4 separate regions of the Homo sapiens genome follow, and all the other regions are linked to region 2. The links are contacts of gene promoters, found by promoter capture Hi-C in human tissues and cell types (Jung and others, 2019). All regions are on one chromosome and are shown on one strand. The core of a region is centred on a gene start or on the middle of the fragment in contact, and the rest is flanking DNA. Distances in the headings are between cores, read along the strand shown.

What was found. The method cuts DNA at HindIII sites, captures the fragments that hold promoters and counts their contacts. A contact is called where the count stands out against the background at its distance.
Region 1: a contact is called between the fragment with the promoter of CACTIN here and the fragment with the promoter of TLE2 in region 2, in 2 of the 25 tissues and cell types used here (heart right ventricle and small bowel).
Region 3: a contact is called between the fragment with the promoter of TIMM13 here and the fragment with the promoter of TLE2 in region 2, in 1 of the 25 tissues and cell types used here (dorsolateral prefrontal cortex).
Region 4: the fragment with the promoter of AMH here is called in contact with the fragment with the promoter of TLE2 in region 2 in 1 of the 25 tissues and cell types used here (dorsolateral prefrontal cortex).

What each region holds. Positions count from the first base shown.
Region 1 is chr19:3,622,564-3,628,529 of GRCh38, reverse strand. It overlaps CACTIN (cactin, spliceosome C complex subunit), which reads left to right and starts at 1,740. Exons shown (of 10, transcript NM_001080543.2): 1 at 1,740-1,934; 2 at 4,368-4,842. The coding sequence starts at 1,768. RefSeq lists enhancers at 1,407-1,776, 1,666-2,227, 2,228-2,789, 2,790-3,351, 3,578-4,077 and 1 more. The HindIII fragment of the contact is 17,013 bases long and covers 1-5,297 here.
Region 2 is chr19:3,024,460-3,031,091 of GRCh38, reverse strand. It overlaps TLE2 (TLE family member 2, transcriptional corepressor), which reads left to right and starts at 1,812. Exons shown (of 20, transcript NM_003260.5): 1 at 1,812-2,211; 2 at 2,289-2,386; 3 at 2,710-2,773; 4 at 3,219-3,263; 5 at 6,010-6,072. The coding sequence starts at 2,188. The HindIII fragment of the contact is 30,131 bases long and covers 1-4,843 here.
Region 3 is chr19:2,426,336-2,432,589 of GRCh38, reverse strand. It overlaps TIMM13 (translocase of inner mitochondrial membrane 13), which reads left to right and starts at 5,004. Exons shown (of 3, transcript NM_012458.4): 1 at 5,004-5,176; 2 at 5,266-5,334; 3 at 5,544-6,254. The coding sequence starts at 5,057. The coding sequence ends at 5,642. LMNB2 (lamin B2) reads left to right here. Exons shown (of 12, transcript NM_032737.4): 9 at 67-174; 10 at 688-807; 11 at 932-1,042; 12 at 1,638-4,424. The coding sequence ends at 1,679. RefSeq lists enhancers at 4,534-4,683, 4,768-5,513, 5,514-6,254 and a silencer at 5,234-5,323. The HindIII fragment of the contact is 21,330 bases long and covers 1-6,254 here.
Region 4 is chr19:2,244,336-2,250,572 of GRCh38, reverse strand. It overlaps AMH (anti-Mullerian hormone), which reads right to left and starts at 1,250. Exons shown (of 5, transcript NM_000479.5): 1 at 829-1,250; 2 at 94-236. The coding sequence starts at 1,240. It overlaps SF3A2 (splicing factor 3a subunit 2), which reads right to left. Exons shown (of 9, transcript NM_007165.5): 3 at 5,958-6,029; 4 at 5,794-5,840; 5 at 5,018-5,127; 6 at 3,771-3,820; 7 at 3,551-3,691; 8 at 2,911-2,979; 9 at 1,918-2,806. The coding sequence ends at 2,027. RefSeq lists promoters at 1,241-1,272, 1,241-1,450, 1,241-1,520, 1,272-3,306, 1,241-4,239 and enhancers at 1,168-1,307, 3,362-3,863, 3,162-4,239, 4,493-4,993. The HindIII fragment of the contact is 11,600 bases long and covers 1-6,237 here.

The DNA.
Region 1 (5,966 bases), core at 491-2,990, 600 kb before region 2:
CGGCAAGGTCATCATCTAGAGCGGCAGGAGATGGTCTCTTCTTCCTCTGTAAGGTTCCATCCTTGCCTTAACACCAAGCAAAGCATACAAAGCCAGCGTTTACGGGGATGTTATGAAGTTGTATTCCAAGATAAACGTTTTATTTATTTATTTATTTATTTATTTATTTATTTGAGACGGGGACTTGCTCTGTCGCCCAGGTTGGAGTGCAATGATGCGATCTCAACTCACAGGAACCTCTGCCTCCTGGGTTCAAGCGATTCTTCTGCCTCAGCCTCCCGAGTAGCTGGAATTACAAGCATGCCACCATGCCCAGCTAATTTTTGTATTTTTAGTAGAGACGGGGTTTCGCCATGTTGGACAGGCTGGTCTCGAACTCCTGACCTCAAGATCCACCTGCCACGGCCTCCCAAAGTGTTGGGATTACAGGCATGAGCCACTGCACCCCACTCAAGATAAACATTTTAATTTTCTTTTTTTTTTTGAGACGGAGTCTTGCTCTATCGCCGAGGCCATAGCGCAGTGGCACGATCTCGGCTCACTGCGACCTCCGCCTCCCAGGTTCAAGCAATTCTCCCTGCCTCAACCTCCCAAGTAGCTGGGATCACAGGTGCATGCCACCACACCCGGCTAATTTTTGTATTATTTAGTAGAGATAGGGTTTCACCATATTGGCCAGGCTGGTCTTGAACTCCCGACCTCAGGTGATCCGCCCGCCTCGGCCTCTCAAAGTGCTGGGGTTACAGGCGTGAGCCACCGTGCCCGGCCAAGATAAATATTTTAAAAGTTAGCTTAAATTACTATCATCCTCCATAAACAGGCCTTCCCAGCCCCGAGTGGTTAGAACTGCACGGGGTGGTGGTAGCAGCCACCATGGGCTAGGGGAGCTCAGGATGGGACATCAGCGTCTTCTAGGTCTCTGGCCTCCAGCCTTGCCCCTGAAGTCCGTCCTCCCACGCCAAACTTGTTTCAACAGCAAGTCCCCCAAACCCTGCTCACAACCCTCCCACGGGTCCCCAGCACCCACACCACAAAGCTGGGCAGCCTGGGTTGAGAAGGCAAGTGTTAAGAGTGACTTTCCCTCTCTGAGCCTCAGTTTCCCCGTCTCTAAAATGGGTTGATGGGGGAATACAGGGAGTTATCAAAGTTTTTGTTTTTTTTTAAAGCTTAACTCCCAAAATACATAGGTGTTCATTGGCAGGTGGTGGAGCATAACGATGACTCTCATAAGAAGGCTTTTCAGTTTCTGTCCCCGCGCCCGCCCTCTGCCCTCTGGAGCTGCCTGGCACCTAACACCTTCCCGGTTCCTCGCCTTTCGGGGACCTCGCTCCCCGGACACGCCTCTCCTCGGCCACGCCCCTGGCCACGCCAATGAAGCGCTACTTCCGACCTAGACCCGCTTCTTATTGGTCTCGCCTCGGCAGGCCCCTCCCTGCACAAGGTTCCTAGTTTGCCCTTGCCCCGCCCACAGTTTCTCAGGCCCCCTGAGGCGTGGGGACCCGCCTAGGGCTGCCTCCAGCACTGCCTGAAAGGAGACTCCGCCACCCTGGAGGCAACAATCCCACTGGAGTCAATCACGCGGTCCACATTTGCAGACGTAGTGGAAAGTCTGGGGTGTCGGAGTCCTTGCGGGCTGGGGCGACGGGATGGGTTGCTCTTTCCCGGCTCAGGCGCAAACGGGGCAGCCTGGAGAGCGCCGTGGGCGAGGAAGGCCCCCAGCGCAGGCTTCGGCTATTGGTGTTGGTGCCGCGGCCACTGGCCCAGCCGATGGGTCGGGACACACGCTCGCGCTCGCGGTCCGCGGGTCGCCGGGGCCGAAGGCGGCAGAGTCAGAGCGGGAGCCGAAGTCGGAGCAGGAGCCATGGGCGGCGAAACCGACGGCGCCGGGAGGACGAGGGACGGCGCAGACGGAGGCGGCGGAGCCGGGAGCGCAGGTGGGGTCGCTGCGGGAGCAGCGCTGGGGATCCGGCTCCTACCTCAGGAGCGCCCGACCGAGGGTTGGAGATCCCGGGGAACCGGGAAACCCCCGACTTACTCGGGGAGGGCTTCCTAGAGAAGGGGACAATTGACCACCGGTTGGAATTAACCTGGCAGCGGAAGGAAGGCGAGAGGCGTTCCAGGCAGGGGACCGGGCGGTTGGAGGGACAGCCCGGAGCCGGGTGAGCGAGGCGGCGGGGAGGTAACGAGAGATCAGATCATATCATATCGAGCCCTGTGTGCTCAGCACATTAGATCTTGGCTATTAGTCGGAGGGAAATGGAGAGTCTTGAGAGGAGTTTGGGTAGGGGAGTGACGTGGACTGACTTAACTCTGCATACTTTCTGGCTTTGAGGTGGAGAAGGGATGGAGCGGGGTAGGCAGGAGCGGCATCAGAGTAGGACGGCACAATTGTCCAGACAGTAGATGATGGCAGTCTCGATGGGAGGGAGGCTGTAGTCAACCACAGCGGGCAAAGTGCGTAGATTTCAGAGGGATTCTGGAAGTAGAGGAGACAACATTTGCTAATGGAGGTGGGCTGTGGGAGGGAAAAAGACTCGGTGTCAGCTGGCAGGACTCACAGCTGATTCCTAGTGCCTGAATCTCAGCTTCCCCATGGTCCTTTTCTTCTGGAGATGGGGCACTTGGTCGGATTTGCCTTGAGCCGGCTCCAGTACAGAGAAACCAAAATGGGGACAGGGACTGATTCCCAGACCGGGGCCCCAGTGCTGGCTCAGCCCCTTCGTGGCTGACACTCAGGCCAGTCTTGCCCCGCTCTGGGCCAAGTTCACTCATCGGTTGTTGGTTTTTTTGTTTGTTTGTTTTTGAGACGGAGTCTTGCTCTGTCGCCCAGGCTGGGGTGCAGTGGCACGATCTCGGCTGTTACCTCTGCCTCCTGGGTTCAAGCGATTCTTCAGCCTCAGCCTCCCCGGTAGCTGGGGTTACAGGTGCTTGTTGCCACACCCAGCTAATTTTTGAATTTTTTCGTAGAGCTGGGATTTCTCCATATTGGCCAGGCAGGTCTTGAACTCCTGGCCTCAAGTGATCTGCCCGCCTCGGCCTCCCAAAGTGCTGGGATTACAGGCGTGAGCCACCGCGCCTGCCCATAAGTCTTGTTAATGTCATCTTTGTGTTTTTTCGCCTACCATTTTCTGGTATTGGAATTATTCACAATAATTTGCCACTCTAGATATGTAATTAGAATTAATGTTCACGAAAATTCAGTTGAACTTGTGGCCAATATTTAAGGGCTCTGCAATGATTGGTTTCAACATAGTTTAGATTTTTTTGACATGAGCTTAATGGGTAGAGCATTTAACAAAATATTTGGCAGTTCTCTGTGTACAAAGACCCCTAAACGTGACTGAGCGCAGTGGCTCACATCTGTAATCCCAACACTTTGGGAGGCTGAGACAGGAGGCTTGCCTGAGCCCAGGAGTTCAAGACCAGCCTGGGCAACATAGCAAGACCCCTCTGTACAAAAAAATGTAAAGAGTTACCTGGGCGTGGTGGTGTGTGCCTGTAGTCCCCGCTACTCAGGAGGCTGAGGCGAGAGGATGGCTTGAGCCCAGGAGGTCAAGGCTGCAGTGAGCTCTGATCATGCACTCCAGCCTGTGTGACAGAGGGAGACTCTGTCTCTAATAAATAAAAATATAGACCTTGTCTCTAGTAGACTCTGTGTCTAGTAGACCTTGTCTCTAATAAATAAAATTAAAGGCCCCTGAACCACCCCTGAGGTTGTGCATCTTCCATTCCCTGCGCTCTACTCTGTTAACTCCTGTCCATCCTGTGGGACTAGTTCAAATACCACTTCCATCTAGGAAGCCCTCCCTTGACAGCCTAAATGTGTTCGGGTCCCCTGGTTCGTACCCTTATAATTCCTGCGCCACCAGCCCCAGCCACCTCCCTGCCCGCGCCTCCTCCCTCTCCCCCACACTCTGTCTCAGCCATACAGCCTCCTTGTTGTTCTTAGAATGTGGCAGGTCAGTGCCTGCCTCTAGGCCCTCGCTCTTGCTCTGCCTCGAGCACTCTCCCTCCGAATCCACCCATCGCTGCCTCCCCACTCCCTCCAGACCTTGGCTCAGTGTCAGCTCCTGAGAGAGCCCCTCTCTGACCTCGGCCCTGCAGCCCCAGCCCCTGTGCTCGGCATTGCTACTCTTTGTGGCTTCTGCCTCTGCCTAGTGTTGCGTGGTGTGTTTATTTGTTGATGTCTTCCTTGTTGGGGCCCACCAGAGGGTGAGCCCAGGAAGGCAGAAGCCATCGGTATTTGGGTCACTGCTGTGTCCCCAGAACCTAGAACAGTGCCTGCTCCCCCACGGGCACCCAGTAAGCATCTGTGGAGCAGATGACAGCTGCAGGCACTGAGCAGGCATCCATGGTCCTCTCCGCAGGTCAGATTCAGAGGAAGAGCGGTGGCAGCGCTCAGGGATGCGAAGCCGGAGCCCCCCGCGGCCCAAGTGGCACTCAAGAGATGGGTCCTCTCAGTCGGACTCAGGAGAGGAGCAGTCACGGGGCCAGTGGGCTCGCCGGCGACGGCGCGCACGCTCGTGGTCTCCTAGCTCCTCAGCATCCAGCTCCGCGTCTCCAGGGCGATCCCAGAGCCCCCGGGCGGCCGCGGCTGCCCTGAGCCAGCAGCAGAGCCTGCAGGAGCGGCTGCGGCTGCGGGAGGAGCGGAAGCAGCAGGAGGAGCTGATGAAGGCCTTCGAGACGCCCGAGGAGAAGCGCGCACGGCGGCTGGCCAAGAAGGAGGCCAAGGAGCGCAAGAAGCGGGAGAAGATGGGCTGGGGTGAGGAGTACATGGGCTACACCAACACCGACAACCCCTTCGGAGACAACAACCTGCTGGGCACCTTCATCTGGAATAAGGTGGGCCCCGCCGGGTGGTGGCCTCTGTCCCTGTAGCATTTCCACTGTTTCTGGAGACCCCAACACTTGAGACACTCCCAGCCTGCCCTTGATCGTGCAAGAGTTGGTTTTACACACACACGCATAAGCAAGCTTCTGCCGCTATCAGCTTTCTTTTTTGACACAGGGTCTCGCTCTGTCGCCCAGGCTGGAGTGAAGTGGTGTGATCTCGGCTCACTGCAAGCTCCACCTCCCGGGTTCATGCCATTCTCCTGCCTCAGCCTCCTGAGTAGCTGGGGCTACAGGCGCCCGCTACCACGCCCGGCTAATTTTTTGTATTTTTAGTAGAGACAGGGTTTCACCATGTTAGCCAGGATGGTCTCGATCTCCTGACCTTGTGATCCACCCGCCTTGGCCTCCCAAAGTGCTGGGATTACAGGCGTGAGCCACCACGCCCGGCCAGCTTTCTTTTTTGACTCAGGGTCTCGCTCTGTCACCCAGGCTGGAGTGCAGTGGCGTGATCGTGGCTAACTGCAGCCTTGACCTCCTGGCCTCAAGCGATCCTCCTACCTCAGCGTTTTGACTTGCTGGGACTACAGGCACCACCACCATGCCCGGCTAATTTTTTATTTTTTTGTAAAGATGGAGTCTCACTATGTTGGCCAGGCTGGTCTCGAACTCCTAAGCTCAAGTGATTTTCCCACCTCGGCCTCCCAGAGTTCTGGGATTACAGGCATGAGCCACTGCGCCCAGCCCACCGTCATTTTCTTGCCATTAACTGTGTCTCTTGCGGTGTAAGCTTCAGCCATTCTTTGCCCCGAACACCAGCCCAACCTGAAACCTATCTAGAGAGCCAGCTCTTGGCATCATGTACCCAGGACAGGGTTCCACAGTTCCAGGCGCTCTGTCGTCTGAGCTGGTTCTTTCGTTCTGCGCCTGCCATTTAGCCACCAGTCACACCAGTGGCATAAGACAACAGAACTTATCATCTCTTCGTTCTGGAGTCCAGAAGTCCAAAATCAAGGCGTGGGCAGGTGTGGGCAGGACCCCACTCCCTCTGGGGGCCGAGGGGAGGCCCCTCCTGCCTCTCCCAGCTCCAGTCATGGCCGGTGATTCCTGGGCCCTCCCTGGCTTGCAGCCGCAGA
Region 2 (6,632 bases), core at 563-3,062:
GGCAGGGATCTGTCTCCCTTATCCACCCTTACAATCCCTGTGCCTGGAAGGATGCCTGACACGTCATAGGTGCTCTGTAAATATCTGTGGGCTGGAAAACGATGGCTTTAAATTTGATAAGGGCTTTTTTTTTTTTTTTTTGAGACAAGGTCCTGCTCTGTCACCCAGGCTGGAGTGCAGTGATGTGATCTCAACTCAGTGCAGCCTTGACCTTCTGGGGCTCAGGTATCTCCCGCCTCAGCCCCCCAAGTAGCCGGGACCACAGGTGTGCATCACCATGCCTGGCTAATTATTTTTGTATTTTTTGTAGAGATACAAAAAACACAAAAATGTTTTTTTGTATTGTCGCGGTGTTGTCCACACTGGTCTTGAACTCCTGGGCTCAAGCGATCCTCCCTCCTCAGCTTCCCAAAGTGCTGGAGCTACAGGCATGACCCACCACCCCTGGCCCATTGATAAGGGCTCTTGTGCCCTTTTGTAAGGGTACAAAATGGGTTTTTGTAACCCTAACCCTTAGGTACCATTAGGTACTCGATCACCTAAGGACACAAGTCCAAGTGTCATCAAGGGGCATGGATTTTTCTCTGTTTTGTTCCCAGCTGTGCCCCAGTGTCTACAGCAGTGTGTGGTCCACAGTATGCATTTAGTACACGTTTGTTGATTGACTTCACAAACCTCTCCTGAGGTTTCTCCAAAGAGAATAAGAACTTCCCACTCCCCGGGTGGGCCTGAAGGATGCTGGCTGGATGTCTGTGGTCTCTGGTCGGGGCTGGAGCCTTTGCCGTGGGAGAGACTTGAGTCTGATGGCAGAGCTGTGGTTCTTCCAGTTCTGAGTGGGACACGGCTCCTGCCTTCAAGAAACCCAGTCTGAGAGGGGAGACAGCCCAGTCCACTGGTGATGGCAGTAGGAACACAATTCCCATCTGTGGAAGTTTGCTCTGTGTAGGGAGAGGCTGACAGCGTTCATGCACTATCTCATTTAAGTGCAGTGCCCAGTGCGGTGGCTCCCGCCCGTAATCCCAGCACTTTGGAAGGCCGAAGAGAGAGGCTTGAGTCCAGGAGTTCAAGACCAGCCTGGGCAACATAGTGAGACGCCCCCCTACTCCATCTCTGCAAAAAATTAAAAAATTAGCTGGGCGTGGTGGTGCACACCTGTAGTCCCAGCTACTGGAGAAGCTGAGGGGGAAGGATCGCTTGAGCCCAGGAGTTCGAGGCTGCAGTGAGCCATGATTGCCCCACTGTACTCCAGCCTGGGCAACACAGGGAGACCCTATCTCTGCAAAAAATTAAACCCTAAAGATAGCGCACCACCCCTGACCTTTTGCAGAGACTACTGAGGCCCCCAGAGGGCGAGGGCCCGGCATGATCTGGGAAGCAGTGTTTGCTGTGAGATTCCCTTTCTGGCAGGGTTCCCTGCCAGCGCTTGGCAAGGCTGCGTCCTGCTGACCCTTCAATCTCAACCCAATGTCACTTGCTCAGAAAAGCCATTTCCGACTCCAGACTGGTCCCCGCTCCCCGCAAGCCCCCCCCCCCGCTCCCACGGTGGGTAACACGGTGTGAATTTCTTCACTGGTTTTTCTTCTCCCGCCCCTCCGGGAGGGGGTGGGGACCCTGTTTTAAGGCACTGGGCGCCTCCCCACCCGGCCTCAGTTTCCCCAACGGCCCAGGGACTGAAGGAAGGGGGCGGGTGCCCGGGGGCCGGGGGGGGCGCGGGCGCGGGGAGGGGCGGTGCGCGGGGGTGGGCGCGGGGCGGGCCGCGGGCGCGTGGGGGCGGCGGCGCCACCTTAAGGCGGCTCAGCCCGCGGCTCCCGGCCGAGCCCCGCCGGAGGGAGGCGGCTCCGCGCGGGGCCCGCCGCCCGCGCCGCCGCCACCGAAACCCGGCCGCGGCGCGCCCGACCTTCTGCGCCGGCTGCCGCGGCCGCCCTCGCCGCGCTCCCGCCCCGGCCGCTGCCCCTGCCCGCCCCGCTCGCCCCGCGCACCCCAACCCGGGGAGGGGCTCCCACGACCCCGGGCGCGCGCGCTTGGGGGCGCGCCAGGGACTCCAGGGTCCCTTGCCCCGCGCCGCTTCTCCCTCCTCCCTCTTTCTTCGGGCAGCCTCCCCACCACCCCACTTCAGCCTCCCCCACTCTTGCCGCCTCCATATCATCAAGCTCTGGTGGCGCCTGGGGGGCTTTTCGGATCGGCAGGATGTACCCCCAGGGAAGGCACCCGGTGAGTGCGGACTGCGGGGAGGGGGCCCCCAGTGTCCGGGAACTCAGACCCTGACGTTTCCCCCACACCCCCCCCAGACCCCGCTCCAGTCCGGCCAGCCCTTCAAGTTCTCGATCTTGGAGATCTGCGACCGCATCAAAGAAGAATTCCAGTTTCTTCAGGCTCAATACCACAGGTGAGGGGGGCCGCCCCAGGGGCCGCGGGAGTTCACCTGGGCGCCGGGGCGGGGCGAGGCCTCCGGGGTATAGGGCGGGGAGGAGGGGCTCCCGGTTGGAGGGGGGGCGCGACAAAGGCCTCCAGGTGGAAGCGCAGGTGCAGAGGGGTCTGGGGACAGTCAGAGCTGGGGCATTTGGAGCCCAGGAAGGGGCGGGGAGGGACTGGGACAGGAGGTGGGGGGAGGTCTGTAAGGAAGTCGGGAGGGGGAGATCCAGCCTCTCACTTTGGAAGCCGGCCCACATGGGGCGGGTGGGAGCCCCTTGCCCTCTCTCTTCTTCTCAGCCTCAAGCTAGAATGTGAGAAGCTGGCCAGCGAGAAGACGGAAATGCAGCGACATTATGTCATGGTGAGGGCACTTATGATGCCAGGGTGAGGGGAGAGGCGGGCAGGGCTTTGAGTCACGGTGGACTCTGGGGTAGGTCCCTGCCCCACTCCGAACCTCGTCTTCCCCGTCTGTACATTGGGCAGGTTGGGATTTCAGGCTCTCTAGGAGGGTCCTCCCAGCTCTGGGAATGGGGAGACAGGGAGGACCCCTCGCCTGATGGGAGTCTCTGTCGGGCCAGGGCCTCTGGACACTTCCTACCTGCCCTGCCTCTCTGGGGAGAGTAGAGGGGGCCCTTCCAGGCAGAGCCCCCGCTTCCTCCTCTGGGACCCCGTGGAGCTGGGGGGGGCTCTGCTTCCTGCTGTGATTCCCCTGAACCTGGGGACTCTTGGAAGACCCTGGCATCACCTATCTGGAGGAGGGCACCCATCTCCACCCTAGACGTTCTTACTTGGTTTTTCCTTTGCAGTATTATGAGATGTCGTACGGGCTCAACATTGAAATGCATAAGCAGGTAACTGGGTTGGGGTTACGCGTGTTCAGGAGGGAGGGTGGGGGTCTGGAAGCCCTGAGAAGGACCCAGAGTGGGCAGCCGGGGCCAGAGCAGACCTAGGGAACACGGGTCTCATCCTGAAATCTCCGCAGAGGTCACAGAGGGCCCATCTGGGACCAGGAAGACAGATTTCAGCCTCGTGGAAGGAAAATGAGTCCCACCTTCTGAAGACAGTATCTAGCAGTTGGAGCGTCCAGCAGAGATGCAGGCAGTGGGCAGGGGCCACCAGGCATCCCCATCAAGGAGGGCACATAGCAGAGGCAGGGCAGCCAGGCCAGGGAGGCTGTGGAAGTGACTTCTGTCCTAGGAGGGAGCTGGATGGCCACTCTTAGAGGTCCCTTTCAACCCAGAAAGTCTGAAGTTTTGAGATGGACCCCAGGTTCTGTTGCTGCTTTGAAGCTTCTGAGATTGGTCTCAGTGTGATTGGCTGGAAGGTTCCAAGATTGTTCTCCAGGCCCTGAATTTGATGCCATGGTTCAGACTGTGACCCCACTACTCCAAAATAGACCTCAAAACTCTGTGGCTGTCTTCAGGGCTTTGAGATTGACTCCAGTGTCGTAAGGCTCTGAGCCTCTTCTGGAGCTTCTCAGTGTGATCCAAGGTTCTGAGACAGACTTCAGGGTTCTGAAATAGACCTCAGGGTTCTGAGATTGACCTCAAGGTTCAGAGATAGACCTCAGGGTTCTGAGATTGACCTCAGTGTTCTGAGATAGACCTCACGGTTCTGAGATTGACCTCAGTTTTCTGAGATAGACCTCAAGGTTCTGAGATAGACCTCAGGGCTCTGAGATTGACCTCAGGGTTCTGAGATAGACCTCAAATTTCTGAAATTGACCTCAGGGTTCTGAGATAGACCTCAAGGTCCTGAGATAGACCTCAGGGTTCAGAGATAGACCTCAAGGGTCAGAGATAGACCTCAGAGTTCTGAGATAGACCTCAAGGTTCTGAGATAGACCTCAGGGTTCAGAGATAGACCTCAAGGGTCAGAGATAAACCTCAGGGTTCTGAGATTGTCCTATCTGTGTACTGAGATGTGTTAAAAGGTTCTGAGGTGTTCCTGAACTTGTGATCTCAAGGTTCAGAGATAGACCTCAGGGTTCTGAGATAGACATCAGGGTTCAGAGATAGACCTCAGGGTTCTGAGATAGACAGGGTTCAGAGATAGACCTCAGGGTTCTGAGATTGACCTCAGGGTTCAGAGATAGACCTCAGGGTTCTGCGATTATCATATCTATGTGCTGAGATGTGTTAAAAGGTTCTGAGGCTATTCCCGAACTTCTGATCTCAAGGTTCTGAGATAGACCTAAAGATTTTTTTTTTTTTTTTTTTTTTTTAAATTTTGAGACAAAGTTTCACTCTTGTTGCCCAGGCTGGAGTGCAATGACCTGATCTTGGCTCACTGCAACCTCTGCCTCCTGAGTGCAAGCGCCTCTCCTGCCTCAGCCTCCCGAGGAGCTGGGATTACAGGCGCCTGCTACCATGCCTGGCTAATATTTTGTATTTTTAGTAGAGACGGGGTTTCTCCATGTTGGCCAGGCTGGTCTTGAACTCCTGACCTCAGGTGATCCACCTGCCTCGGCCTCCCAAAGTGCTGGGATTACAGGAGTGAGCCACCTTGCCCGGCCAATAGACCCAAAGATTCTAAAATTGACTTTAGTGGTCCATGCTTAATCCTGAGATCCTGAGACTGGCCAGTGGTTTCTAAAGGGATGAGAGGGGTCCCAAACTTCTGAGCTTCATGGGCTCCTAGATTCTATCAGAATATTAGAATCAATGAGCAGAACCTTGTATTGGGACTTCCCGGTGGCTGGGAAGGAGAAGGGGGTGGGCTGGGAGTGTGGGGTGCCTGGGGTTGCCCACCCTGGCATGCTTTCCTGCATGTGTGGGGGTTCTGTTGGTTCTGATGTGGGCAGGAGGGGGCTTGTCTGCTGAAGCATGGCGTGGTCCCATGGGTCCACGCAATAGACCCCCCTTTATGGGGTGCGGGACACCCTGGGATCCCAGTTCCACCCTCCTGGTGGGAATAGGAGACACAGACTTCGCCAGACACACAGCACACCTGTAACTCAGGCAGAGGCAAAGTCCGTGGCCATTGTATGCCCGCCCCCTTCCCCACCCACACGCCTTCTCGTCTGCTCAGCCTCTTTGGGGCACCTGGGCCCAGACCCTCTCCAGATGAAATCCTTCCCTTGAGTGTGGCGTGCTGAGATCTCCACCTGGAGGCATCCCCAGCTGGTAGATCAGTCCTGGGAAGCGGAGGAGACCAAGAAAGGGGCCTTGCCTGGGACAGACGTGGGCCAAGCCGGGGCTGGAATCTGGGACTCCAGGCGGAGGCCCCTTTCCTTTGTTTCAGCTGAGCCCAGCACCTCTGAGTGTCTGCGTCTGAGTTGGGTGTCTGAGCGTCTGCCTCCTGCAAATCCCTGGCGGGTGTGCGTCTGGCGGGTGGTGTATCTGTGACTCGTAGGACCTCAGCCCTGGTCTTCCCAGCTCCAGGCCACCCTGGGCCTCGCTCAGCTGAGCACGCAGCCTGGTGGGGCTCTGAATCCCACCTCGGCCCATGCCATGCTAGCCTGAGTTCCCTCTGTGCACCTGCGGGCGTCACCTCCCCAACCCTTCGGCTTTGCCAACACCTGGTCCGCCTGGGAGTCCAGAGCTGGGTTGCAAATCTCTACCCCGCTCCAAGCTTCCTCTCATTGCTTCCTGCCAGGCGGAGATTGTGAAGCGTCTGAGCGGTATCTGCGCTCAGATTATCCCCTTCCTGACCCAGGAGGTGAGTGGGCCTGGGGGTGGGGGGAGGAGGGGAAGGGAGCCGGAAGAAGACGGGAGGGGGTAGGTCTGGGCGAGGACGCCCCAGGCACTGATTCTGCCGCGTAGCCTGCAGCACGGATAGAGACCATTTTCACTGCAGTAGTCCCGCAGCCCTGAGGCCAGGCATCCCGCTGGGGCAGGGGCTGCAGGGATGGAGGGAGGTGTTGGCTGAGGGTGAGGACTGGGGGCTGTTTTCCCCCTTGATGGGAAGCAAGGCATAGAGCTGACCCCCTCAAGCCCTGCAAGTTGGCTGCCTGGGTCTGAATCCTGGCTGTGTGGCCTCAGGCAGGACACTTGTCTCTGTTTTTTCAGTAGCGTAGGTGTGAAGTTGAGATGAGCTCATACACCCAGGGTGCTGGAGATGATGGGTACGCTTACTCAGCACCTGATGAAAGTTAACCCTACCGTCTTGCTAGAAGAAGTCACTGAGGGACAAACACTGGGTGATCCACTCCTAGGAGGTCCCAGGGTCGTCAGGTTCACTGAGACAGAAAGCAGAATGGGGGGTGCCAGGGGTTGGGG
Region 3 (6,254 bases), core at 3,755-6,254, 600 kb after region 2:
CCAGGGCGATGGGGGCGGTGTCACAGTCCTGGTGGCTGAGGGTCAGGTGTGTGCCGTGTCTTCCAGGATCAGTCTCTGGGGAACTGGAGAATCAAGAGGCAGGTCTTGGAGGGGGAGGAGATCGCCTACAAGTTCACGCCCAAGTACATCCTGCGCGCCGGCCAGATGGTCACGGTAGGTGGTGGGGCAGGAGGGCGAGGGTGGCCACGGATGGGGTGTGAGGTGGGGTCAGGGGACTGGAGGCACAGGACTTGGCGGGGGTGGGTGGGGATGATGGTGGCACCAGGCACCGTCTCAGAGCGGCTGCCGCAGTCATAGAACCTCCATGTGCTGGTGTCACCCCACTGGGCCTCCCTGGAGCCTGAGTGGTGTGCCCTGGGTCTGAGTCCAGGCTGCTGGGGCTGGCAGGCGTCCCCGTGAAGTGTTAACAGTCAGGCGCATGGGCCATGGAGCCTGGTGGGTGTCAGATCCCAGTTCAGCCCCTGCTTGCCAAGAGCCCTTGGCCTCTGTGAACCCTGGTCTCTTCTTGTGTATCCTGGGGACCATCACCCTGGATAAGCCTGCGTCGGGCTGGAAGGACTGAACGCCCAGGGCATTGAAGGGGGCTTTGTGGTAGGGGCCACTGGCTGGCCCACGTCCCTGGAACCAGAGGTGACCCTGATGGGGCCATTGTTATTGGGTCCTCAGGTGTGGGCAGCTGGTGCGGGGGTGGCCCACAGCCCCCCCTCGACGCTGGTGTGGAAGGGCCAGAGCAGCTGGGGCACGGGCGAGAGCTTCCGCACCGTCCTGGTTAACGCGGATGGCGAGGTGGGTGTGTGTGGCTTGGGGGGTGCTCGGCTGGAGTCCTGGGCAGGGTCTGGGCACCCTCGGGGCCGCCACAGCAGCTCTGGGCCCGATCCCGGGACATGCCGCCGTGTCCTGTCCCGCACAGGAAGTGGCCATGAGGACTGTGAAGAAGTCCTCGGTGATGCGTGAGAATGAGAATGGGGAGGAAGAGGAGGAGGAAGCCGAGTTTGGCGAGGAGGATCTTTTCCACCAACAGGTAGGACCCCTGTGCCCACTTGCGGCTGGGGGGCAGCCTCTGGGGCAGAGTGAGCTCGTGCACACACATACACATGCGTGCTGGCCGCATCCCCGACGGGAGCTCCATCTGGCTGCCGTGGCTCAGGGTGAAGCCAGCCTTGGCTGTTACCAGCACGGCAGAGACCTGTTCTTGCCTCCTGGGTCGTGCCCATCGTGTGAATTTGCGACATCACAGACCTCAGGGTAGCTGGCCAGGGGGTCCCCTGAGAGGTGGGTGTTGAACAGCTCCCCAAATGCTCTCTGGTCAACCGGCTTCCTCAGTCGAAGACACAGGTCCCTTCAATACTGGCTTCTGGGGAGAAGATGAGTGCAGAAACCACAGCTGCATTAAACGCGTGCGTCGCAAGTTCCTGTGACTGTTTTGGAACCCAGAACAGAATGTGTAGCTCACAGGCGGGCTCATGGGGACATGGAAGTGGAATGGAAGGCTCTAGAAATAGACACTGTTGTTGCTCAGCCCCTCCCTGGTGGGGAGGTGGGGGCAGCCATCTACCTGCCGGCTGCCTCCAGGCTGGCCCTGATCATGGCCGACCTTCCTTCCTTCCTTCCTGCAGGGGGACCCGAGGACCACCTCAAGAGGCTGCTACGTGATGTGAACCCACACTCCTCATCCACACACCTTTCTTTACCCAGAGCCACTGAAAACTATTTTTATATCATTGGCTTTCTTTAGTTCTTGATACATTTCTAGAGAATTTCTAAGCGAACTGCCAGAACGTGTGGGTGGGTCTCCCCCAGCCCTCCCTCCTGGCGGGTCTCCTCCAGCCTCACTTCGCTGCCACTTCGCCGCTGCCCCGGAGACTTTTCAATCCCACCCCACTCCTCATCTCACCATTTGGTCAAATTGGAAGCCCAGGGCCAGGACCCGGAGGTTTAGAAGATGCTTGGGCTTGGAGGGAGGAGGGCCGGCGAGGCTAGCGAGGGGACAGGAGACGGCCCTGCTGCGGACGGAGCGCGGAAACTGCGTAGGAATTCAGTGGTGGTGGGTTTTTTTAAGGCTTTCTACAAAACCAAATTCAGAATCCAGGCGTCGACCTGGTGGGGCCCGGGGCCAAGCCTGCATTCTGGCTGCCCAGCTTCGGACAGCGGGAACTCCTCAGGCAGCCACGCAGCGGGTGTGGGCCAGCATGGGGATGGCGTGGCCCCCAGGGCGGGTTTTCACTCCGCTGCCTGGGCTTCCAGATTCCCGTTCTGGCAGCGCACCGGCCGGGTTTCTCGGACCGTTGACTTTATTTGGGGGAGTTTTCCCGCAGTTCAGTTCCTGACTGTGCAAGGCCAACAGGGCAGGGGAGGGGAAGACCTGGGGAAGGAAGAATGAGGACAGTCCCGTCGTAAGACCTGTCACAACAATAAGCAGGGAGGGGAGATGTGGAGGGGACACATCTGGTTGCCTTGGAGGCAGAAGCTGTGAGTTTCAGAACAGCTGTCTGCAGGGAACGCCACCATGTTGACCCTCTGGAGGAGAGCGCTGTGGAGCCCCTCCCGTGTTCCAGCTCCGTCTGCCCTGTGCCTATATATACACATGCGTCTATCCATACTGTGCTTTTATCTGTGATTTTCTCGCTGAAACCATGTTTCTCAGACAGGCCAAGGCCACCTGACTCCTATCACGACGCACCCAAGCCCCTCAGTCCAGCTTCCCAATGCCTGGCACCCCCCTTCGGCAATAGCTCACCGTTTACACCCTCCCTCATAGATACACAGAAGTTATTTTTTTAATGGATATTTATTTTTTTACATTGGTCAGTACACAGGTCAGGAGCTCACGCCAGGGCCTTGAGGACAGGCTGACCCTCCTCCCCGGGGTGGCGTGGGGCTGGGGCACCCTCCGACGGCAGAGCCTCCTTCAGAAAGTGCAGCTCAAGTCTTAAAGACACCAAAACTGAGCCATGGGCACGCGCCGTCTCCGGGCCATGGCGTTCACTGCAGGGCGGGGGCGGCACCGCTCCCCTGTGACTGCATCCCGCCTCCCTGGGGACCTGCCTGTGGCAGGAAGGAATGGGGGGCCCCAGCCCCAGGCCGGGAAGGAGCCAGCGGCCGACAAAGCAGAAACACCCGCTGCTCCACGTAGCCCCTGCTCGCTGTCCTTGCTCTCAGAAGTCCCGGTCCCATGTAGATAGAGGGGGGCGCATCTTACCAAAGCATTTCCTCCTGGAGGCTACGCCGCTGTGCTCCCAGTCAGGCGGCTGGTAGGGAGCTTTGCCTGCCCCGGGGATACCCTCTGCCAGCCGCTGGAAGTGGGAATGCTGGCGACAGACTGTGTCCTCTTTCCCACCTTCATAGCAGGAATCACCCGGACCCGACTGGCTGGGCTTCGTGCTAGCGAGGGTTCTGGGGGTGGGTCTTGGTGATCTTGTCCTATGGGGAGTCTGCAGTGGTCTCAGCCACATCCTATGTATTTTGGCTCTGGAGGAGCAAAGCTGTATCCTGGAGTTGGTCTGTGATTTGCCGACAGCCTTGCAGGCTGGGCTCAGGGACAAAGTCCCCCCCAAAACCCGCAGGTCCTCATGTCCAGACGCTGCCCAGTCCTGTCCTGAAAACAGCACGCCCCAGGCCCACAGAACCCCCCACCCTACATTTGCCTTGGGTGGAGCTGGGGGTGGTCCTAGGACTGCGGGTGCCCTTAGCTGAAGGGGGTGGGGAGAAGCGTGGACTGGGCAGCCTGTGGGTAATTGGAGGTTCATTGAGAATTGAGTCTTTGGAAACACTAAGAAAATCAAATTTTTAAAAGTTATTTATGGCCTGGGAAACAATTTGCATTTGTCCCCAAATACGCTTAGCTGTGTGCCGCTTAGAACGATGCGAAACCATCCCTCTGTGTAAGCCCGTGCCGTGTGACTCGAAGCCTAGCGCCCTCCCTGCGAAGCATCAGACGCCACCCAGCCCTGGGGGGAGGCCCACGCCTGCTGGACCAACGCGGGTTCTGGGGTGCACAGCGCCAGGTTAACGCTGAAGCCTGCCCCGCTGAGCCCAGGAGCCGGGAGGCCTGCGGGCTGACCCAGAATCCGATCATGCACCTGTCCTCATGCCAGCGGCTTTGGCTGGGGTTGGTCTGAAGCCTGCACGCGGCAGTTCTTTGTTAAAGATCTGAGGGACTCCTCAGTCCTGGGGCGTCGCCGCCTGCAGCCTCTTCCAAGCCCTGCGTCCAGCGAGCGTCACAGCACAACCTGCAAAAACGGAGCTGGGCTGCAGCTGGGGCTGGCATGGACTTTCATTTCAGAGATTCGGTTTTTAAGAAGATGCATGCCTAATGTGTTCTTTTTTTTTTCCAATGATTTGTAATATACATTTTATGACTGGAAACTTTTTTGTACAACACTCCAATAAACATTTTGATTTTAGGTTCTGCCTCTGAGTTTATTCCTGAGGGGAAGCTCGAGCCGGGGCCTCTGCCCTAATGAAGCGGATGTCTAAGAAAGATCCCTCCACCCCCAAGGAAAAAGGTCACTGGCTAGTGTAGCTAGTGTAAACAGGACCCAGGCGATGCATGGGACCCTGCCCTTTTTTTTCTAGTGAGCCTCCGACGCTGTTGCACAAGCTGACTCTTCGTCACGTGATGCGACCGGGCTCCGCCCCGGCGGCAACACGCTGTATAGACGCGCCGGGTGCCTCGTGCGCATGCGCGGCAGGCCCTTCGGGACGAGCTGGAGGCAGAGCGTGAGTACAAAGTGATCGGCCTCGGCCGCACGTAGTAGCCCCCCTACTCCCCGGCCAAGTCAGGGCCTCCCTCTTCCCGCGGAGTCGCAACCACGGGTAGCTCGTGTAGGTAACGGCAGGTCCAGGCCTCCGCATGAGCGGAGGGCCCCCCGCGCGACCTTGAATGGCCCGGGCGCGCGCGGTCGTGTGGGAGTTGTAGTCCTCCGTCCCCGTCCGCGCGGACTCCGTTTCCCGTGGTGCCCCGGGCGGCCCGCTTCCGGCGCAGTTAGTTACGAGTCGGCGCACGCGGCCTCGGTCCGGTTGACTTTGCGGAGCCATGGAGGGCGGCTTCGGCTCCGATTTCGGGGGCTCCGGCAGCGGGAAGCTGGACCCAGGGCTCATAATGGAGCAGGTGAAAGTGCAGATCGCCGTGGCCAACGCGCAGGAGCTGCTGCAGGTGCGGGGCTGGCCGGGGACGGGCGCTGGGGGCGACAGGGCCACCCCTGGGGGCCGACGTCGCGGCTAAAGCCTCGCGTGTCTCCACAGAGGATGACGGACAAGTGTTTCCGGAAGTGTATAGGGAAACCTGGGGGCTCCCTGGACAACTCCGAGCAGGTGAGACCCGCGGAGGTTCGGGGCAAGGGTCGCGAGGGCCTAGATTCGAGGGGGGAGGTGTCTGCGCGTGCGCAGACTAACGGGGAGGTGCGACGGAGTGGTCACTGCACGTGCGTAGTCTGCAGCCCGGGCGTCCTGGAGCCGGGGTCAGGGCGGTCCCCGGGGCCGCGAAGTCCCGAGCTGAGCCGTGCGCCCCTCCGCTCCCGCAGAAGTGCATCGCCATGTGCATGGACCGCTACATGGACGCCTGGAACACCGTGTCTCGCGCCTACAACTCGCGGCTGCAGCGGGAACGAGCCAACATGTGACCGGCGAGCGCGGGCCACCCCACCCTGTTCATTTCCATAAACGTGCTTTGAGAGGCGGGGTCCGCATGTACGTACTGCCTGCCCGGGGCTTAGGAGGGTGGCACCGGTGCTGGGACACACGGGACTGTGTCCTCGCCACCCCCCGCCCTGCCCCCTGCCAGCCAGTGCAGCTTGGATCTCGGGGGTGTGGGGCCCTGTGCCTTCCTGAAGTGCTGGCAGCCCAGTGGCACCTCCTTCAGGCCTTTGGGGTATTCCCCTAGTGTGCCCAAGTCAGCCTCATATTCTGGGCGGACAGCTTGTCTGGACTTCGGAGTTGGGGGTGGTCAGACACCACAGGAGCTGTCACCTCCTGCGGATGGGCAAATAAATTGGTGGAGGACGGAGAGAAACCTCTTTATTTCCCTCCTGAGGGGTCTCTGGGAAGAGGTGACGCGTGTCCCTGGAACCCCAGCTCGGAGGGTCTCAGCCTCCCCTGGGTTGGGAGAAGTCCATCTTTCCCCTTAGTGCCACCGGGCTGCTGAGTCACGAGGAATGTGTTGCTGCTGCCACCCCTGCCCCAAAGGCTAAGGGGGACAGCCTTCCCCTTGTCAGGGCTTGCTTTGACCCTGCTTC
Region 4 (6,237 bases), core at 1-2,500, 780 kb after region 2:
CTGGTTCTACGCTGTTCTCAGTACTGCAGACCCTGCAACAAATCCATGCCCCCCGCCACGGCCCGGGCACTGCCCCATGCAACTCCCTGGTACCTGGGCACCCGGCAGCCCAGCCCTCGTCACAGTGACCTCAGGGCCAGGCCCAGGGTACAGCACCAGCAGCGCCAGCTCTGGGGGGCCAGCTCCTCCAGGCGGGGGCTCCTGGAACCTCAGCGAGGGTGTTGGCTCCCAGGTCACTGCAGCCGGGACAGCAGGGGACGCCTGAGCCATTGAAGGCCACACCCCCCGGGAATCTTTGGGATCTGTCCCTGCCGCTCTGGCCACTGTGCAGGGGACCTCAAGCGGGGGACAAGGGTGCCCCTCTTAGCTGCCTTCCTGCAGCCAGGGAGCGGTGACGGCAGGGGCAGGCAGGGGCTGCGTCTGAGGCTGTGGGTGGGGCTGCCGCCCTGGGGTCTCTGGGTTGGGGTGCCCGATGAAGCCCCTTCCCCGCAGGGAGTATCTTAGGCCAGCGGCCCTGAGAACAGGCTGGGGCTGTGGGAAGAAGGGTTCCACTGGCCCCGAGCCCTGCGTCGTCTTCAGGGGTGGGGAGAAGGCAGCAGCTCTCTCCCTGGCACCGAGGCAGGGGCAAGTCTAAGAGCTGGGCTTCGGGGACAGGACAGAGTGTGGTGCCCACCTTCCAGGCCACGGACCCGCAACCCAGTCCTAGGAACAAGACCACAGCCTCCCTGCCCAGGGTGGGGGCTCTGCCAGCCCCTGATCTTCCCTAGGAGGACCCGGCCCACCTGAAGGAAGACGGCGGTGCCAAGCTTGGGGCTGGGCCCCACATACCTTCCTCCAGGTGTAGGACCACCAGGCGCTGCCCCCCAGGGTCCCGCAGCCAGGCCCCCAGCCGCCGTAGAGAGGGCAAGGCAGCCTGCCTGTCACCGGTGTTGCAGACCCCGAAGGTGGCCAGGTCTCGGGGGCCCCAGCGGGCCCTCTGCACGGCCCCCAGGAAGGCCTGCTCATAGGCGCTTAGAGCCCCCACCACCCGCAGGGGGGAGCTGCTGCCATTGCTGTCCCCGCCCAGTGCCACCAGGCACAGAGGCTCTTGTGGGCTGCCTGGAGGCCAGTCCAAGTCTTCTCGGAAGATGAGGCCACTGGTGCCCACAGCTGGCTCCTCTGCTCTGAGGGCCTCAGTCCCCAGCAGAGCCCCCAGGGCAGACAGCACTAGGGCCAGGCTGGTGAGAGGCAGGTCCCGCATCGTGGGTGCTGCCAGGGGCTGGGCTGCCTGCCTTAAGTGAGCCGAGTGGAAGGTGGGGTGTTTGTGCAGGACAGACCCCTATCTCCTCTGCCGCGACCTTGGGGGACAGTGCCCGGCGCCCCCACTCCAGGCAGAGTGGCCTTCTCAAAGAGCCCTTTCTGTCCCTGGCAGCCTATCTCCCTCCCCAGTGATAGAGCTGGGCCTGATGTGTCAACATGCCGTCCTTGAGGGCCATCCCCAGAAGACACAGGAGTGGGAACCAGGCTGGGAGTGACGGCCAGGCAACCAAACTAGACAGCGCTGGGGGCGGGGGGCCCAGATGTCCTGGGTGCTGAGGTGTGGGCCTGGAGGAGGAGGGTCCCAAGTCAGTGGGGGCGCCCTGTCCCTGCTCACCCTCCCCACCCCTGGTGGGCTATCTGGAGACCCCAAGGATATCGTGGAGTCTGCTCTTCCCTCCCCAGAACAGGACCCCAGATCCCCTCCTAGCTGGCTGGTGGGGTCTGTCCTCCACCAGGCCATCTCCAAGGTACAGCCATCTCTCAGGCCTCCCACAGGTGTCTCCTGGCGGGCCCCAGGCCCTCCCCAGTCGGCCCAAACTGGGGGATGGTGCTGTGCCTGGCACTCCCACACACACTGACACAGTAGGGCGGCGCTGCGGACATCAGTGCACTCAGGGCTGGGGGAGGCTGTTTAATGAGCGGGGGGCAGTACAAAAGAGCAGCCTTCTCTCAGTGGGAAAAGGCAAGAGCACCTGGCGCTGGGCTTGCTGGGGGAGGGAGCAGCTTCTCAGTTGGTTGGGGGAGGGGGAGGTATGTTCCCTGGGCCTTCGGAGGGAAGTGGGGGCCTCAGCATTGGGGGCATGGGAGTTGGGGGGTGCACCCCAGGATTTGAGGGGTGAACTCCCGGAGGCTGAGGGTGGACCCCAGGAGCCGACGGATGGACCCCGGGAGGTTGGGGGTGGACCCCCGGGGCCTGAGGGTGCATCCCTGGGGCTGGTGGGTGCACCCCTGGGGCCTGAGGGTGAACGGCGGGGGCTGCTGGGTGCACCCCCGGGGCCTGGGGGTGAACCCCCGCTGATGGGGGAGGATGGACCCCTGGGGCTGGTGGGTGAACCCCAGGGGCTGGTGGGTGGACTCCGGGGGCTGGTGGGTGAACCCCGGGGGCTGGAGGGTGGACTCCAGGAGCTGGGGGGTGGACCCCAGAGGTTGGTGGGTGGACCCCAGGGGCTGGGGGATGGACGCCAGGAGCTGGGGGGTGGACGCCAGGAGCTGGGGGATGGACCCCAGATGCAGGGGGATGCACCACTGGGGCCGGGGGGTGGACCCCTGGAGCTGGCGGGGGTAGCTGGGGTGGTCCCGGGGGCCCTGAGGGCGCAGGCCCTGTGGGGGGCATGGGTGGCAGAGGCAGGCCTCCTGGCGGGGGCGGTGGCAAAGACTCAGGCAGCGGTGGCCGAGGGGGCAGACCGTTCATCAGCGGGGGTGGAGGCCGCTTCACCCCAGGGGGGCCAGCAGGGAGGCTGGGTGGAGCCGGGGGCTTCTCCATCTTAAAGTGGAACTGGAGGAAGAACTAGAGAGACGGAGAAAGGTTCAGCAGGCACGGGTGGGGCTAGGGCAGGGCTAGGGCCGCCAGGGCTGGGTGGGAAGGAGCCAGGCTCGGGGCGAGCCACTCACCTGCTTGGTCTCCCGGTTCCAGTGTGTCCAGAACTTGCCCTCCGCCTTGTCGATCTCTCTGCTCGGCACCTGGGAGGGCGGGGGACAGAGAGGGCTCCTGGTCCCTGTGACCTCAGGGCGACCATCAGGCAGGGAGCCCGAGGCACTAGCCTCCCCAGCCCGGACTCTACCCTGGGAGCCCAGGAGAAGGCTGGTAAGACTTTCGTGGGGCACAGGGTTCAGTTCTGGAGTGAAACAGACCTGGCCTCAATGCTAGCACGCTGTTGGCCCCCTCCCTGGGCAGTCACCGTTTGTATTATTTGTTTCCTGATGGCCGCCCTGTCCAGGCATGGGGACAGGCTGTAGGAAGCCCTCCAGCAGCCTGGCCCAGGAAGTGAGGTCACTTGGCAAAGGCCTCACAGGCCTGGCGCTCAGCCCTGCCGGCCTCCCTTCTCATTGGCCCAGTGGAGCCCAAGCAGGCCCTCCTGCAGAGCCCAATGGGAGAGGTGCCCTGCCCGGCCTGTGCAGACCCTTCTGGCTCCGACTTGGGGGGGGCCCAGGGGACCCCAAGCCCGATGGGAGGGGCATCCTGCCCAGCCTATGCAGATCCTTCTGGCTTGCACATCTCAAGGGGGCCCAGGGAACCCCGCAGCCACGCTACCTTGAAGGCAATGGTCTCGTAGGGCTCGGCGGCCATGAGCAGGTACTGCCAGCGCCGGTCCGGAGGCTCGATCCTCTGCTCGTACGCAGACATGAAGCGGTGACGTGGCATGATGCCCTCGGCGATCTCAGGGTAGTCAATCTGCAGGGACACGGCCGGGTGGCAGAGCCGCCTCTTGGGTGCCTTTGGCCGCCCCCCACGCCCAAGTCCCTGATCTCACCTGGAAGAGGAGGCTCTGCTGGCCCATCTCCGAGTCTCTCTGCTTGGTCACTGCAACACAGAAAGCTCTCAGGTCCCGGCTGCTTGTCCTCTCCGAAGCTGAGGAACCTGGGGCAGGCTAATGCCACCCACTGAACGAGAGCGGGACCCCGGGGGAGGCCCTGCAGCTCTGGCAACCATTAGACAATCTCCGCCCAGGCTCTGGGATTCTGGTATAGGTGAAGGCACAGGTGCGCCAGAGCTGAGCTACCTGCGGAGTCACTCAGGCAGGGACCGAGGATGGTGCTCCTTTGTCCCAATCCCCAGAGCCCTTCACCAGGGGTGCTGGGATACCACCCAGCAGGAGTTGGGGCCACTGGGTAGGGAGGGGCCCTCGGCACCCTGGCTCTGGGATTCGAGCGGGGCCGCCTGAACAGGGCTGACACCATGTATACGGTGAGCGAGAGAGGATGCCCTTCCCGCCAGAGCTCAGCAGCCTGGACCCCGAGAATGGCTGCTGGGCTGCCTGCCGCCCGGCCACTCTCCATGCGGCCTCAGACACGCACACTCACAAGCCCTCTGCCGCCTCACCGTCCTGAGCCCAAGCCCAGGACCTGTCAGGGCCTCCCCACCAGGAGCCTGCCGCTCTAGCCACCCTCGCCCACCCGGTGCACCTGCCCCGGGACCTCTGCCCTGCAGGCTTCTGTCTGGAGGCCAGGCACACAGGCTGTCCCCGCCTTCTGTAAAGAACACTTGCTGGGTAGCGTGCCCGCCTTCCTGAACCCTATGGACACAAGTCTCTATCTTCCACCCTGGTCACTTCCCCAGCTTTCTGAACCGGGGTCACCTCTAGCCATTCCCACTGCTGAGGGTCCGGGAGGAGCTGCCTCTAACAGCCGCTTCTCCCTGTCCTCCTTCAAAGGCTTCAAGGTTAACCGGAGGGATGTGCCAGGGCTCACCACACCTCCACTTCCACTCTTTTGCTTGGCAAGAATTCCCAGAAGCTTCCACAAGACCCGGACAGGAGGGCACAGACTGTGGCTCAGCTGGGAAATGGGCTGCTGGGTGAGATGGGTGCTTATCGGGCCCAGCCTGACAGCTCCCAGACACAACGCCAGAGGCTGCAGGTGGGTGAGGGACGGCCACCAAGGCCGGAAAACAGTGGCTCAGGGAGGAGGCTATCAGGGCTGCACCTCCCGCACTGGAGACTAAAGAACACACTTATGTCACGGCAGCGGCTGTGGCCGGCCCCGCTGCGGGCAGACTCACCTTTGTAGCCCGGGCGGCCGATCTTCACAAACTTCTTCACCTCCACCTTGACCTTCTCAGGCGCGGGCTGGGCAGGGGCCTCCTTGGCCTCCTTGGCTGCTCGCCGGGCCCTGCGGACAGGATGGAGGTGCTGCTGGGACCCCTCCACACACAGGCACCAAAGCCATGGGCCCAGGTGCCAGGAGCCCCCTGACCTTGGAGCTCACTACAAGCTGAGAGATGAGGAGGGCCAGGGGCCTGGGAGGGGCCCTGGGGTTTGGCTGAGGACAGGGATAGGACAGGCATGTTCTCTTCCTGTCATGCTCCTCACTGTCCCTGGCTGGGGCCCTTCCAACAACTCCATGCCTCTGCTCTTTTTTTTTTTTTTTAATAAGACAAGAGTCTCACTCTGTCGCCCAGGATGGAGTACAGTGGCAGCACCTTGGTTCACTGCAATCTCTGCCTCCCAGATTCAAGATTCTCCTGCCTCAGCCTCCATAGTAGCTGTGATTACAGACGTGTGCCACCATGCCTGGCCTAATTTTTGTATTTTTAGTAGAGATGGAGTTTCACAATGTTGGCCAGGCTGGTCTCGAACTCCTGACCTCAAGTGATCTGCCCGCCTCAGCCATCCATGCCTCTGTTCTCTAATGCTCCCCAGGAACCGTACTCAAGCGCCCAGGGAGGCTCAGGCCAGGCTGGCTCCCCGGCTGTGGAGCAGTGGCCCGCGAGGCTCACAGAGACTTGAGCCAACGGCTGCTGGAGCACCAGGCATCAAAGGGACATGAGGTACTCACAGGTTGGTCTGGTGCTTCTTCCCCTGCGTATGTGCCAGGTAGCTCCCCTGGAGTGGAAAGGAAACACGCATGACTCGAGGCCGGGCGGACAGACACAGGCAGGTCCCCCTGACGTCAGCCACTCAGCCCGCCGCGAGCCGCCCGGAGCCAGGCAGAGGCCGCACCTCATTGTTGTGAAGTGTCAGGCAGAGTTTGCATTCATAGGAGCCCAGGTGGTTCTTCATGAAGTACGGGTCCTGGAGGGGAAGAACAGGGGCCCGTTAGACAGAAGATCGCGGCCTGCTGCCGTCAAGGCCCTCAGAGGCGGGATCCCCTTTCTGTAGAGGCATGGAGGCAGAACCCCCCTTCTGTAGAGGCATGGCTACCGCTGACAGTGGTCAAGCATTTCTGAAAACGGGGGATCCAGCGGGAGGCCTTCGTGAGCACGGGTGTCACCACCTGGGG